Regions from separate parts of the Homo sapiens genome. Here region 2 is linked to region 1. The links are contacts of gene promoters, found by promoter capture Hi-C in human tissues and cell types (Jung and others, 2019). All regions are on one chromosome and are shown on one strand. The core of a region is centred on a gene start or on the middle of the fragment in contact, and the rest is flanking DNA. Distances in the headings are between cores, read along the strand shown.

Region 1 (6,756 bases), core at 3,864-6,363:
GAATAGCTGAAATGAAAGAAGAAAAACATTGTGTTGATAAGGATGAGAAGTAACAACCATTCCCAAATACTACTGGTAAGAGTATAAACTGGTACAATTGCATTGAAGAAATGGCCACAAATGGGAAACTATCCAAATCCCTTCTAACAGTAGAACACATAATAAATTATAATACATTTATATAATACTATACAGCAATAAGAATAGATCAGCCACAACGACACACATTAACAAGGATCATTTCACAAAAATAATGTTAAGCAAAAGAAGTCAAACATGGAATCTAATAGTGGATCTAATGGAATCTAATAGTTGATCTCACAGAAGTAGAGAGTATAATAAAAGTAGAGAAGTAGAAAAACAGGTAAAAGAAATCTGTGGTGCTACAACTCAGGACTATAGTTTCTCTTTGTGAGTATAATGACAGGAAGGAGGCAAAAAAGGAATTACCGGAGGTTGAGGAACTCCCTCTGTGTAGACATGACCTTAGTATTCATTCCTTCAATCATGCTGCCAGAATACCAGCAGGCCCCGTAGTGAACCTTCACAGTATCTCTGCTATATGCTTTACCTGCACAGACACAACAGTGATATGGACTCCAGGGCTAGTGAAGCCACTGAAAAAACAACTGAAGAGGTGTCCACTTGTATCAGAAGGTGCTGGTTGCCTACCATGTTCATTATATGTTTTCTGGTGTATCTCAAAGTGGTTTCCTGCAGGATTTACAACAGTCAATCAAGGAAGTTATGGGAAACATTGTGGACATGGAAAAAATAAAAAATAAAAAACGTCGGGAGGGAATAGTTGTTTAAGATAGGCACCTTGGAGAAATTCAAGAGTTAACAGACACCACACCAGAGGCATTAACAGAAGATGACTTGATGGAGATGAATGCTTCCAAACAAGTGCCAGATGATGAGAAAGAAGTAGAAGAAGCAGTGCCAGAAAACAAACTGACATTAGGCAATCTGGCAGAAGTCTTCCAGTTATTCAAGACTGCTGTGACTTCTTCTGACATGGACCCCTATTATAACACAGATACTAAAACTAAAGCAAACAGTGGAAGAAATGGTACTGTACAAAAACATTTTTAGAGAGCTGAAAAAGCAAAACAGACAAATTAGTATGTATTTCCATAAAGCTATATTGACTGCGTCTACCTCTCCTTCCTCCCCTCCCACCTTCTCTGTCTCTGGCACCCTTGAGACTACAAGACCAACCCCTCCTCTTCCTCCTTCTGCTCAGACTACTCAACATGAAAAATGTCAGAACGAAGACCTGTATAATGATCCACCTGCACTTAATGCATGGCAAATATATTTTCTTCCTATGATTTGATTAACATTTTCTCTAGCTTACTTTATGGAAAGAATGCAGTACATAATACATATACAAATTATGTGTTAATCCACAGATGTCATTGGTACAGCATCCAGTAGTCAAAAGTAGACTATTAGCAGTTAAGTTTGGGAGGGGTCAAAAGTTATATGCGTGTTTTCAACTACACGGGTGTGGGGGTCGACACCCCTGATCCGCACACTGTTCAAGGATCAACTGTACTTTATTGACCTATTTGCCCACGTATCTTCCCCAACTGTGAACTCAAAGAGTACTGACACAGTATTTTTTTCTCCTGTAACCTGAGCTCTGGTGCACTTCCTAGAATTTAGTATGTCCTTCATAAAGAATTAATTAAGAACGCACCTAAACATATAACTTTTTTTTTTTTTTTTTTTGAGACACAGTCTCGCTGTGTCGCCCAGGCCTGGAGTGCAGTGGCGCAATCTCGGCTCACTGCAAGCTCTGCCTCCCGGGTTCACCCCATTCTCCTGCCTCAGCCTCCTGAGCAGCTGGGACCACAGAAGCCCGCCACCATGCCCAGCTAATTTTTTTGTATTTTTTAGTAGAGACGGGGTTTCACCATGTTAGCCAGGAAGGTCTCGATCTTCTGACCTTGTGATCTGCACGCCTCGTCCTCCCATAGTGCTGGAATTACACGCATGAGTCACTGTGCCCAGCCAACATATAACTTTTAACTCTTCCTTTCCATGAATACTTTATTTATTCTCGTGTTTTATATTCAACTCTGCTACTTGCTGGTAAGTTCAAGAATTTGAAATTATTTGGGAGCAAAGATTTTATCTTTGTTAAAAAAAAAAAAAAAAAAGGCGGCTGGGCGCGGTGGCTCACACCTGTAATCTCAACACTTTGGGAAGCCGAGGCGGGTGGATCACAAGGTCAAGAGATTGAGACCATCCTGGCCAACATGGTGAAAGCCTGTCTCTACTCAAAATACATAAATTAGCTGGGCATGGTGGTGCATGCCTGTAGTCCCAACTACTCAGGAGGCTGAGGCAGGAGGATCATTTGAACCCAGGAGGCGGAGGTTGCAGTAAGCCGAGATCATGCCACTGCACTCCAGCCTGGCAACAGAGCGAGACTCCGTCTAAAAAGAAAACAAAAAACAAACAAACAAAAAACCCATATTTGGCTGACGCGCTGGCTCACACCTGTAATTCCAGCACTTTGGGAGGCCGAGGTGGGCGGATCACGAGGTCAGGAGACTGAGACCATCCTGGCTAACACGGTGAAACCCCATCTCTACTAAAAATACAAAAAATCAGCAGGGCGTGGTGACGGGCGCCTGTAGTCCCAGCTACTCGGGAGGCTGAGGCAGGAGAATGGTGTGAACCCAGGAAGGCACAGCTTGCAGTGAGCCGAGATCGCGCCACTGCACTCCAGCCCGGGGAACACACCTAGACTCCGTCTCAGAAAAAAAAAACAAAAGCATATTTATCCTACGATAGTGTTATACCAGATATATATCCTAATTTCATGAATACTCTGGTGTGTATATAGATCATCTTTCCAGAATTATAGTCCAAGTCAAAGTTGGAAAATAATTCTTCAGTTCTAGTAATGAGGCAAACAAAGCACCACTATCATCATCTTGGGAAATCTAAAGGGTTAAGTAAATACAGTAGGAAACAAGGGAATATGTAATACAGAAGCCTATAAAAACGAATTATACCATTATGTTAAGTGAAATAAGTCAGACACAGAAAGACAAATATCACATGATCTTACTCATAGGTGGAATCTAATAGTTCATCGCACAGAGAGTACAATGGTGTTTACCAGAGGCCAGGATGGTTGGCAGGGGGGATGGGGAGAATTTGGTCAAAGATACATAATATCAGTTAGATAGGAGGAATAAATTTCAAGAAATCTATTATATAACATGAATTTATAGCAAGCTGACTATAGTTAATAATCATATATTGTATTCTTTAAAAAAATGTAAACAGTGTAGATGTTATGTACTCTTACCACAAAAATGATAACTATGTGAGGTAATGCATTGCTAATTAGCTAGATTTAACGATTCCGGAATGTACATACACTTCATAGCATCATGAGGTACACAAAACAATGCCATCTGTCAAAAAATAATAATTATATGTAGCATTTCAAAAAGTTCACAGCATCAAAAATATTTGTAGGGGTGGGGGGACAGAGAGCATCAGGAAGAATAGCTAATGGATGCTGGGCTTAATACCGAGGTGGTGGGTTGATCTGTGCAGCAAACCACCACAGCACACGTTTACCTATGTAACAAACCTGCACATGAAGCCCAGAACCTAAAACAAAAGTTGAAGAAAAAAAAAATTCAAGACGTTTCTATCTGATATTGGACTGCTTTGTCACTTTTTCTTTTGGTCTTCCTAGTGCTTATTTACTACAGGATAAAATTAGCACATGCTATTTAATGTGTTCATTTTAAGTACTATGTTGTTTTCTATGTGTTAATTTTATCTCCTCCAGGTGAGACCATTTTTATTACCATAGGTCTAAAATGACAAGATTAAGTCCAAACAGACAGTAATCACTCAACAGCTATTTATTGAGTAACTTAAAGATTCAATATGAAAGCAACCTTGATCAAAGCTTTCCAGTTGATATATTGTGAAACAGGGTTTTTTCCTAAACATGATTCTAAAAAACAAGCAAACAAACAAAAATCCTCCCCAAATGAAAAACTCCAGTCACTATTTAGCAATACTAATTTCAATTTATCAAACAGAATCAGCCCAAAAATTTCAACAGGTCAGTGAGATTTAAAACAATTCGATGGCAAGAATTTCAATGAGGTTTGGCTCTAATTAAAAGGTATCACAGATCACTGTCAAAGTCAATAACTCAGTAGTGCGGTAATGATTTGGGAGTCCTTTTCAATTTAGACATTTGTCAATCATGATTGCCTTTAAACATCAGTTACCCACTGTCCCTGCTCAGTTTTGAAAAAAAAATTAAATACAAAAATACAACTCAAAATACATGTTTTTTCCACACATAAAATTGGTATTTTAGTAATAAACTCTCGATTCAGGGTTCATAAAATAAAGTAGGTATACTTCTAATTCTTCCTAGCAGTTTTTTGGGGGAAAGAAACCCTAAGTATTTTCTGTTATTTGCAGCTGCTTTAACAGCAAACGACAATTAAATGTGTGAACAAGGTTGTCAGAGTAACACTTGTCATTTACACCGCTTAGGAAAGACATCCAAGACTTCCAGAAACACTAATTAAAATTAACAAAAGCTTCTTATCGGAACTTGTCAGAGAGCTATAGTTTGTCAGACACAGGAAAACCAGATAGCCTCAAAGTTCAAGAGTTTTCGCTCTAAGGTTTAATTCCAAACCACCTACCACTAGGCACTAACGAACTAAGCCCAGACGCTCAGCAACCAACTCATTAAGGTAAGAGATCCCATCCTTTCCATATAACACAAAATTAAGAAAAAGACATCGTGGGGAAGGCGGAGTGAATTTTCTATCAGAAATCAGAAGATAAATGAGCAGGAAAAAAGTCTATCCTCACACACAGCGGAGAAAGGTGCTAGCAATTGCTTGATAAGCCCTAAGGGTTTATTGTTTCACCAACCTTTTCTTTAACTCAATGTGAATGAAGGCACTCAAAAGGAGAAGAACGTTACGTGATATTACCTACCTCGGGCCCCAAAGAACCCTGGAGACCCTCAACCAGGACACAGGTGGGCCTTTCTCACCTGGGCCCCGCCGAAGTCGACCGTCCTTTCGTAGGGCGCACTTTTCAGCAATACGCCTTCCGATTGGTTGGCTCGGGACTGACGTCTCAGTCCTATTGGTTACGAGAGCCGCGGTTGGGGCGAGGAGGCGGGAGTTTGGCACTGGTTCTGATAGGACGGGTGTTTGCGTTCCCAGAGTTCCTATTGGGTTAACACTGGAGGCTCTAAGATGGCGGCAGTGGCAACCTGCGGTAGTGTTGCCGCGAGTACTGGGTCTGCAGTGGCGACAGCCAGCAAGAGCAACGTCACCAGTTTCCAGAGGAGGGGTCCTAGAGCCAGCGTGACCAACGACAGCGGCCCTCGACTGGTGTCCATTGCGGGCACGCGACCGTCGGTGCGGAATGGACAGCTGCTGGTATCAACCGGGCTCCCAGCCCTAGACCAGCTCTTAGGTCGGTTCAGAGCGGAGATCTGGGCTCAGCCGAGGGGAAACTTAGGGAGGGGACCTGTCGGGGAAGCCACTTTGACCCCACATCTCTTTCTGACCCCTAAACCTTCGGAGGAGGAGAGAATAGCCTGGTCTGATTGAGATGGAGGGGAATACGGGTTGTGTGGAGACTTCTGAGCGCTGTTAACTAAACATGTTTTAGTGCCCTCGCTCTCTATTTCATTCCCTGCCCTCCAACCCCTTTTCATATTACGGAGGAATTCGTACATGCTTTTTACCCTGAAATGCTTTCTAGTCAAGGGAAGACATTAATTTATGGAGATGGTTTGGCTTTCATTCAGGATACCTCCCTTCTGCTTTCTCCAGGCAGCTCACGGTTTAGACCAGCCTGCAAAAGTTTTTATAATTGTGAGAGACAGACTTCATTAGAAGATGCTGGAAAAAAATGATTTCCCCTCTTTGACCGTCAGACTGCCTGTTCTCTGGTTCTAAATCTTAAAACATTTTGGCTTTAAGAGAGCGAATGTTAAAGGCTTATGTTGACACATAATCCTTATAAAGTATTTTGAGCCTGTCGTTGATATTTAGATAGTGTCTGCGTTAAATCTGTGTATATATTTTTTATTTTTTCTATATACATTTTGCTTCCCAGTATTGATTGCTGCTACATTCCATACGACATCTTTAAATTTAACTCACATTTTAACGAGAAAAGTCTAGTTCTTAGGCTTTCCTTTAAAATCTCTGGAATTTTTTATGAGAAGCCTGCTGAAGAATATGCTTGTTTCATAACTGTTATATTCAAAGGAATGACCAGATTAAGTTGGTAGGACAGATTTGCTGTGTTAATAAAGCTTCTAGATTAATTTCTGAATGCTGTTTCATTAAAACCCCGTCTGTGTTTACATAACTTTTTTCATAGTGTGTGATATGTGTCTGTTAAATCTTGTACACTTTCATAAAATATAACTCATTGCTTGTTCTTGTACTTCGTTTGACATTTCTTTCGGTTATTTTCCCCTCAAAGTAGGCTTTTCATAGGTTTAGTGCAGAGAAAGTAAGAAGACCAGCAACCTATGAGAAAGAGTATGGCTTCTTGATTCTCTCATTTCATTTTCCGGTTATTTCTAGATAAGTTTAAGTATTTTTCACTTAATTGTTTCAAATATATTTTCCTCCTGAGTTGCATGGTACTGTAAATAGAAGTGATTCAAAATATCTAGTTAGCAAATATATAGTCCACCGTTTTTCCCTTGTGAGC
Region 2 (6,756 bases), core at 1,417-3,916, 450 kb after region 1:
TTACCAGGTTGAGATTTACTTCCTGTCTCTGGGCTTCAATTTTCTCATCTAGAAAACTGGGAGACAGACGAAGTTCTTTGAGGTTCCCTTGCAGGCCTAAGCATCACCGTGTTGGGTGATTCTTCCTTTGATAAGTCAGTGTACAGCTCATTTGATGTGCAAATGTCAAAATGTCAGCAGTGCCATGAACCCTTGAGCATTCGGCTCCTTAGAGAGAAGCCTCTTGAAGGGCGGCAGGAGGTGGGCCACCTTGGACCGGCAAGTCCACAGAGGCCTGGAGAGATGTGGTGCACAGGAGAGAGGTAGATCCTCCAGCTAACCCTGGGATTTCCCGGGGAATGGGCATTTGTGTACCTCCTTGTGGACAGGGCCTGAGCCCATGGCCCGATGATCACCTGAGTTTTTACAAGGTGGTTGAGAGTTTGGGTGTGTTTTTCCTCTCTCCTTTTGAAAACCAAGAGGTCAGCGTGAGTGTAATTCTGACACATGAAATCTGCTCCTTGTTTGGAAACACCCTTTTCAAATAAATCTTGAGATGGGATTAAGAGAACAGTTTTGGCTCGTTTTCAGGACTGTCATCTGTTGAACATCTCCCAGCTCATTTGAAGGAAGTGACAGAAGAGAGTGAGATTTCAAATCAGGGAAATTGGCGACAGGCTCTGCTCAAATTGGCCTCCCCACCTCCAGCGTGCAGCCCGCAGAAAACAAAAGCTCCGGAGTAGGAAAGTGACACAGCGCCACCTCCCGGTAGCCTGGCCGGCCAAGGCCTCTGGCTTAAGCGGGCCTCTGGCCTGCCAAAATGCCTGGGGAGGGAAGAGCTGTGTCTCTGCACTCATAAGATGGGAACAGGGGGGTTCTGGGAGCTCCAAACGTTTCAGTTCACAGTGTGTGCAGTCGTGTGTCTTGCGCATACACACATGCACATAGACAGCCAATTTGAACACCGAGGATTAACTTGTCTTAAAGGGGCAACTCTCTCGTCCATCTACTTTTAGGCAGATTTTAAAGACGATCATAGTAGTTAGCATATGGACTTTGGAGCCTGGTTGCCTGGGTTCAAATCTCAGCTTGGCACTTAATAGCTGTGCAACCTTGGCCAACTTACTTAACCTCTCTGTGTCTGTTTCATCTCCTACAGAATAAGGATAATAAGAGTATCAACCTCAGAGGATCACTGCAAGAATTGAGTGGGATACATATGACGTGCTTAGCACAGTTTGTGGCCCATGGTAAGTGCTCAGTATGTATTAGCTATTTTTGGTATTCAATTAAATATAGCTCACACATTTTTTTTTTCTTCTTTACACCCACCTGTTCGGCCATTTCTAACTGCCTGTTGGCTTATACATCCTATGCAGATGTTTCTGGTTCAAGGAAGATAATGCTAAATCCACAGTTTTGCTGAAATAATTGACCCTACCCAAACGCACACCCTAAACTGAATGAACTACTTGGCAGATTTTGAGAAAAATCATCCTTGGGTAACTCCCATGTATTTTTTTTGTTTTTGTTTTCGAGCAGCCTGGCTGTGCAGTTGGGGCAGTTGATGCTTCAGAGTAAACCCAGGAAGGCTTCATGGGCCTGTGGATGATACATACAGCACTCTCAAATGTTGAGCTTCAACTCATGAGGCAATATTAGTCCTGGATTTTCCTACATTTGTCTGTAGATTGCTCCAGGGACACTGGCAGATGAGGAAAGGGTTTCATTTCAAGCCTTCCTGCTACATTTGAGCCAGAAGGTCTCTGGGAAGCTCCTTCATGGGGCCAGACTTGGGATGTGCATCCATCTTGATGGAAAGTTCTCCCAACCTAGAGAAAAGATGGTGAGGCAACAGGCTGCCAAGGTCAGAGGCTGGTCTTTCCCAAAGTCAACCGTAAATCAAAGCCTCCAAGGTGACCGACCACGTGTCACAGACACCAGCTCTGCAGTCTCTGAGCGGGTGGCACAGGGCTTGATGACAGGAGGCCACCCCTTCCCCAGCCCATCTGCTGCTAGGGAAGACCAGCGTGTGGGCTGTTCATTGCCACCAAGGAGGTTTTCCTGCTGTTTACTGAGGTTTAACTCTCCTTGTAAAGGAGGGCCTGGCCCAAACATCTGTTTCATCAAAGGGGTTGGAGTCTTGGAGACACAAAAGCTTCTCTCAGTGGCTCCATTCTATGGCCTTTATCGCTCCCAGAGTCGTCCTATTAATATGCTGAAACAGCCATGACTTTGCCACTATGAACGTGTCTAGGGAGCACAGCCAGGTTTCAGGGTGAGGAAGGAGAGAAAGGGAGAGTCCTTTGAATCCCCTCAGACTTTACACTTGGCTTCCTCTTATGGGTAAGACTTAACCATGACTCACCTGTTTTAGAATGTTTTGTTAGCCAATCCCTGATTTGCTTGAAACCTCCAAAGTCTCAAGAAAATAGCCTCAAGGGAACTTGGAGCTAAGTCGCAATGTCTCAGGCCTAATAAATAAACTGCATATGAGGACAGCACATGATCGAAAGAGCAAATGCCAGACCGGGAATCTTCAGGTCCAGCACTTGGAAGTCACTGGGATTTTTGCAGAAAACCATGAAGCATTAACGTTTTAAGTTTAAAGGATTAAATAGATAATTTAGGGCTACATCTGACTGTGGAGCCCTGGAGTCTCCTGCTATTTATTGGCTATTTAACTCTGCAGTAGTTACTTCACGTCTCTGAAACTCCATTTCCTCATCTGTCAAAGGGACGGAAAATACTGGGGTGAGGACTTAATGACAAATAATATGTTTTACTCCCTCTAGTGCTTGGCACGTAGACACTCAAACAATGGTAACCAAGTAACAAAAGTTTAAGAGAAATGTGTCAGAGAAGAAGCTAACTTGAGAAATGCTTTTCCATTGAAATTATTATTATTTAAAAAGTTTTGTTTTTGTAAATTGGGAAAAGAGTGCCACAGCTTGATGATAGTGGAGTGGCAGACGTGTTGTATGGCCCGGCTAGGGCAGGCGGCCCTGATATATGCAGCGGTGTGGCTTCCTGTGCTAGGTTAGGGTTCTCAACCTTCTCTACCTATGACAACACACCTATCCAGTGGCATGAGGTTGCCCAACCCACTCTCCTCATTGATGACAGGTTCGAATCCTAGCTCGATCACTAGCTTTGCATTATCTTGGGCAAGTAAATGAGTGATATGAATAGTACCTACCTTCCAGGTTTTGGGGGGTGGGTGGGTAACTGTGATTATGTAGATAAAGCACTGAGGACAGTCTTGAGCACAAAATAAATGCTCAATCCAAAAGAAAAAAATGCGTTCATGATTTCTGTATGATTTTCAGCCCCAGCTATAACCCCGTCTTTTTCACTCAGGGAAGCAATTTGGAAAATAACACTGTGATAGGGATACTCTTGAATCTGCTCAAAAATTGCTAAAACTCATTCACACATAGATTTAATCATTATCAGTAACAAATTATTTGTGAATGACTTCATAACTGTTGTAGATCACAAGTCCTCAAACGCAAATGGGTGCCATACTTTTCTCCAGGCTGCGTGAAATCTGCATTTGCTTCAGGTGGCTGCTGTAACAAATTACCACCAACTTGTTGGCTTAAGCCAATACGATTGTATTATCTTACAGTTCTGAAGCTCAGAAGTCCTAAATGGATGCCAGTGGGCTAAAATCAAGGTGTCGGCCGGGCTATGCTTTTTCTGCAGGCTCTAGGGGAGAATTGTTTGCTTGCCTTTTCCAGATTTTAAAGGCTACCTCCTTCCTTGGCTTGTGGCCACATTCTGTCTTCAAAGCCAGCAATGGTCAGATGAGTCTTTACTCCTATGCCATCTCTCTGACTCTTCTCCACTTAAGATGCCTTGTGATTACACTGAGTTCACCCCAATAATCCAGGATAATTGCCCTATTTTAAGATCAGGTGATTAGCAACCTTAATTCCATTTGCAGTTTCTACTTGCCATATGATACAACAGATTCATAGGTTGTAGGAATTAGGATTGTGGACATCTTTGGGGTTGGCAGCTGGGGGCGGCAGTGGGTATGGGAGGGGCATATTTTGGCAACCACATGGGATAACTTTGAATCTGCCAAAATTACTTAAAATTCATTCACACATATTGTTGCTTTAATCATCAGTAACAAATACAGTGAATAACTCCACAATCAATATTGATAAGAGGGCCTCAAATACGGTGGGGGCCATACTTTTCTCTAGGCTACATGAAATGTGAAAAGATAAGATAATATGGCAATTTTTAACTGAAAATAAACTTACTCCATTTAAAGGACTATTCTTTTGGTATTAAAATGTTGGCAGCAGATGATAGTTGGCTTTTAAAATTGTTGACGTACTTGTCAAATATAAAAGTTAGTAAGTCAGTCAAGACCCAAAGGCTTTCTGGGAAGGAGGGGATGTTGCTGTTTTGTGCAATCAAGGGCAGCAGCCATTACGACCTTCCAGGAGGCAGGCCTCCAGCCGACAGTGTGCAGGGCCACAGGACTCTCAGAGCCTTTCCCTTCTCCATACTTTTCCTTCTCCATTCTTCCCAGGGTTTAGAGAGCTTGGAGCCAAAGGACTGGGATCTGAACCCCTCCTCTGACATGGGACAATTCACTCCTCAGTTTTCATCCATAGAATCAGAATGACAGAAAACCCAGCCTGCTCTTCTCACAGGATGGCAAGGAGAACCAAACTAGAAGAGTGCAGTAAAGTGTAAAGTGCTGTACAAATGGGGATGGTTGTTTTTATAGCTGAAACTTACACTCTTAGTTTCTGGATCTTTCTATAATGTTTATTGAGTGGGTGAGAGAAAATGATGAAGGCCCCAGGGGGTACAATTAAGCCTTTAGGGAATAGCAGTTAGAAAAATGCCATTTTCCTCCCTAAAAACGAAAACAAACAAATCTTTAGGGTTTTTTTTTAAATGGTAAAATACACATAACATAAATTTGTCATCTTACGCATTGTTAGGTGTACAGTTCAGCAGTGTTAAGTACATTCATATTGCTGTGCAACCCATCTCCAGGACATTTCCATCTTGCTAGAAGGGAATTCTGTGCCCATGGACAACAACTCCCCATTTTCCACTGTCCTCAGACCCTGGCAACCATCACTCTGCTTTCTGTGTCTATGAATTTGACTAAGTACCTCAAATAAGTGGAATCACGCAGGATTTGTCTTTCAGTGATTGGCTTATTTCACTTAGTGTAATGTCCTCAAGGTTCATTCATATAGTTAGTCTGTGTCAGAATTCCCTTCCTTTTTAACACTGAATAATATTCCACTGTATGTATATGCCACATTTTGTTTATGCATTCATCTGTCCACGAACAACTTGGGTGGATTCCACTTTTCCGCCATTGTGAATGCTGCTGCTATGAGTGTAGGTATACAAATATCTTTTCAAGACCCTGCTTTCAATTCTTTTCGGTATGTACCCAGTAGTGCAATTGCTGGATCATACGGTAATCATATTTTTAATGTTTCAAGAAACCGCCATACTGTTTTCCATAGTGGCTGTACTATTTCACATTTCCACCAACAGTGTACGAGGTTTCTAACTTTTCTATGTCCTTACCAACACTTGTTTGTTTTTTTTGACAGTAGCCATCCCAATGGGTGTGAGATAGTCCTAATTTTACTTTTTTAATCACAAAAGTAATACTAGCTCATAGTAAAAATGTTGAATAGGTGCAGAAAGGCAAAGAAACAAAATTCACCTACTTGCTCCTTACTTCCTCTTACTTCTCAGAGATAGCCACAATTGTATTGATGTCTACCTATTTCTATAGCATACATGCCATTCCATACTTTTAAATTTTCACTTAATAATCTATCTTGGACGTCTTTTTATATTAATCCCTATAGATTGACCTCATTCCTTTTCACAACCACAGAATATTCCAATGTATCAATGGACTATAATTTAAACAACTTCTCAACTTCCTATTAGTGGACACTTAGTTGATTTTCAGAACTTTAAAAAAAAAAAAACAGCAATGAGAGACCATGTAGCAGCAATGATGAGTACAGAGCATGAAGCCCAACTGTTTTGGTTCAAATTCCAACTCTGCTACCTAGCAGCCCTCGAATGTTGGGCAAGTGATTAACCCTCTCTATGCTTCAGTTTTCTCATCTCTAAAATGGGGATGATTATAACAACTACCTCTTAAGGTTACTGCGAGGGTTAAATGAATCAATGTATGTAAAGCTCCTGAAGCAGAAGGTGTGGTGTGCATCAGCTGTTACTTGGTTTTAATCAACCTCCTTGGACATATATATCTTTGTGCATTTTTCTGAGTATTTATTTTATTTTATTTTTTCTTTAACTTTTACTTTAAGTTCAGGGGTACAAGTGCAGGACTTGCAGCGTTTTTTACATAGGTAAATGTGTTCTGAGTATTTATCGTAGGACAAATTGTTAGAAGTCAAATCGCTGGGCCAAAGGGTATAATTTTTTTCTTTCCACATAGACTTTTTTTTTTTTTGAGCAAAATGGTCATTTTCTGGGAGGCTAAAATTGTACAACCTGTGGTGTGACAAATTTGAATGCCAAAAAGTAGCAAATTGTCCTCCAAGAGGGTTGCACCAACACACTAAGATGGCCTTAAGACCCCCAGGCTCTGTCACTTCATGGTCCTCATCACTTTACTCCTGTTTCTGAGTCAAGTCTGTCTTCTCTTCCCTGAACAATGGCCTTGTCCATTACCCCTTTCAGCCCAAAGGGAAGAAATTGGCAGGGAGGGATATGCCAAGCCATGCCCTGGGGCCCTGT

The links. Contacts are between HindIII fragments. The study calls those that stand out against the background at their distance.
Region 2: a fragment that was not itself captured here is called in contact with the fragment with the promoter of IMMP1L in region 1 in 1 of the 25 tissues and cell types used here (heart left ventricle).

Annotation. Positions count from the first base shown.
Region 1 is chr11:31,504,509-31,511,264 of GRCh38, forward strand. It overlaps IMMP1L (inner mitochondrial membrane peptidase subunit 1), which reads right to left and starts at 5,114. Exons shown (of 6, transcript NM_001304274.2): 1 at 5,011-5,114. ELP4 (elongator acetyltransferase complex subunit 4) reads left to right here and starts at 5,259. Exons shown (of 10, transcript NM_019040.5): 1 at 5,259-5,499. The coding sequence starts at 5,277. RefSeq lists enhancers at 5,252-6,141, 5,274-5,563. The HindIII fragment of the contact is 2,588 bases long and covers 4,276-6,756 here.
Region 2 is chr11:31,957,577-31,964,332 of GRCh38, forward strand. No RefSeq gene overlaps it. Among named protein-coding and RNA genes, the nearest start is that of LINC03031, 80 kb to the right of the region's middle. The HindIII fragment of the contact is 7,890 bases long and covers 1-6,611 here.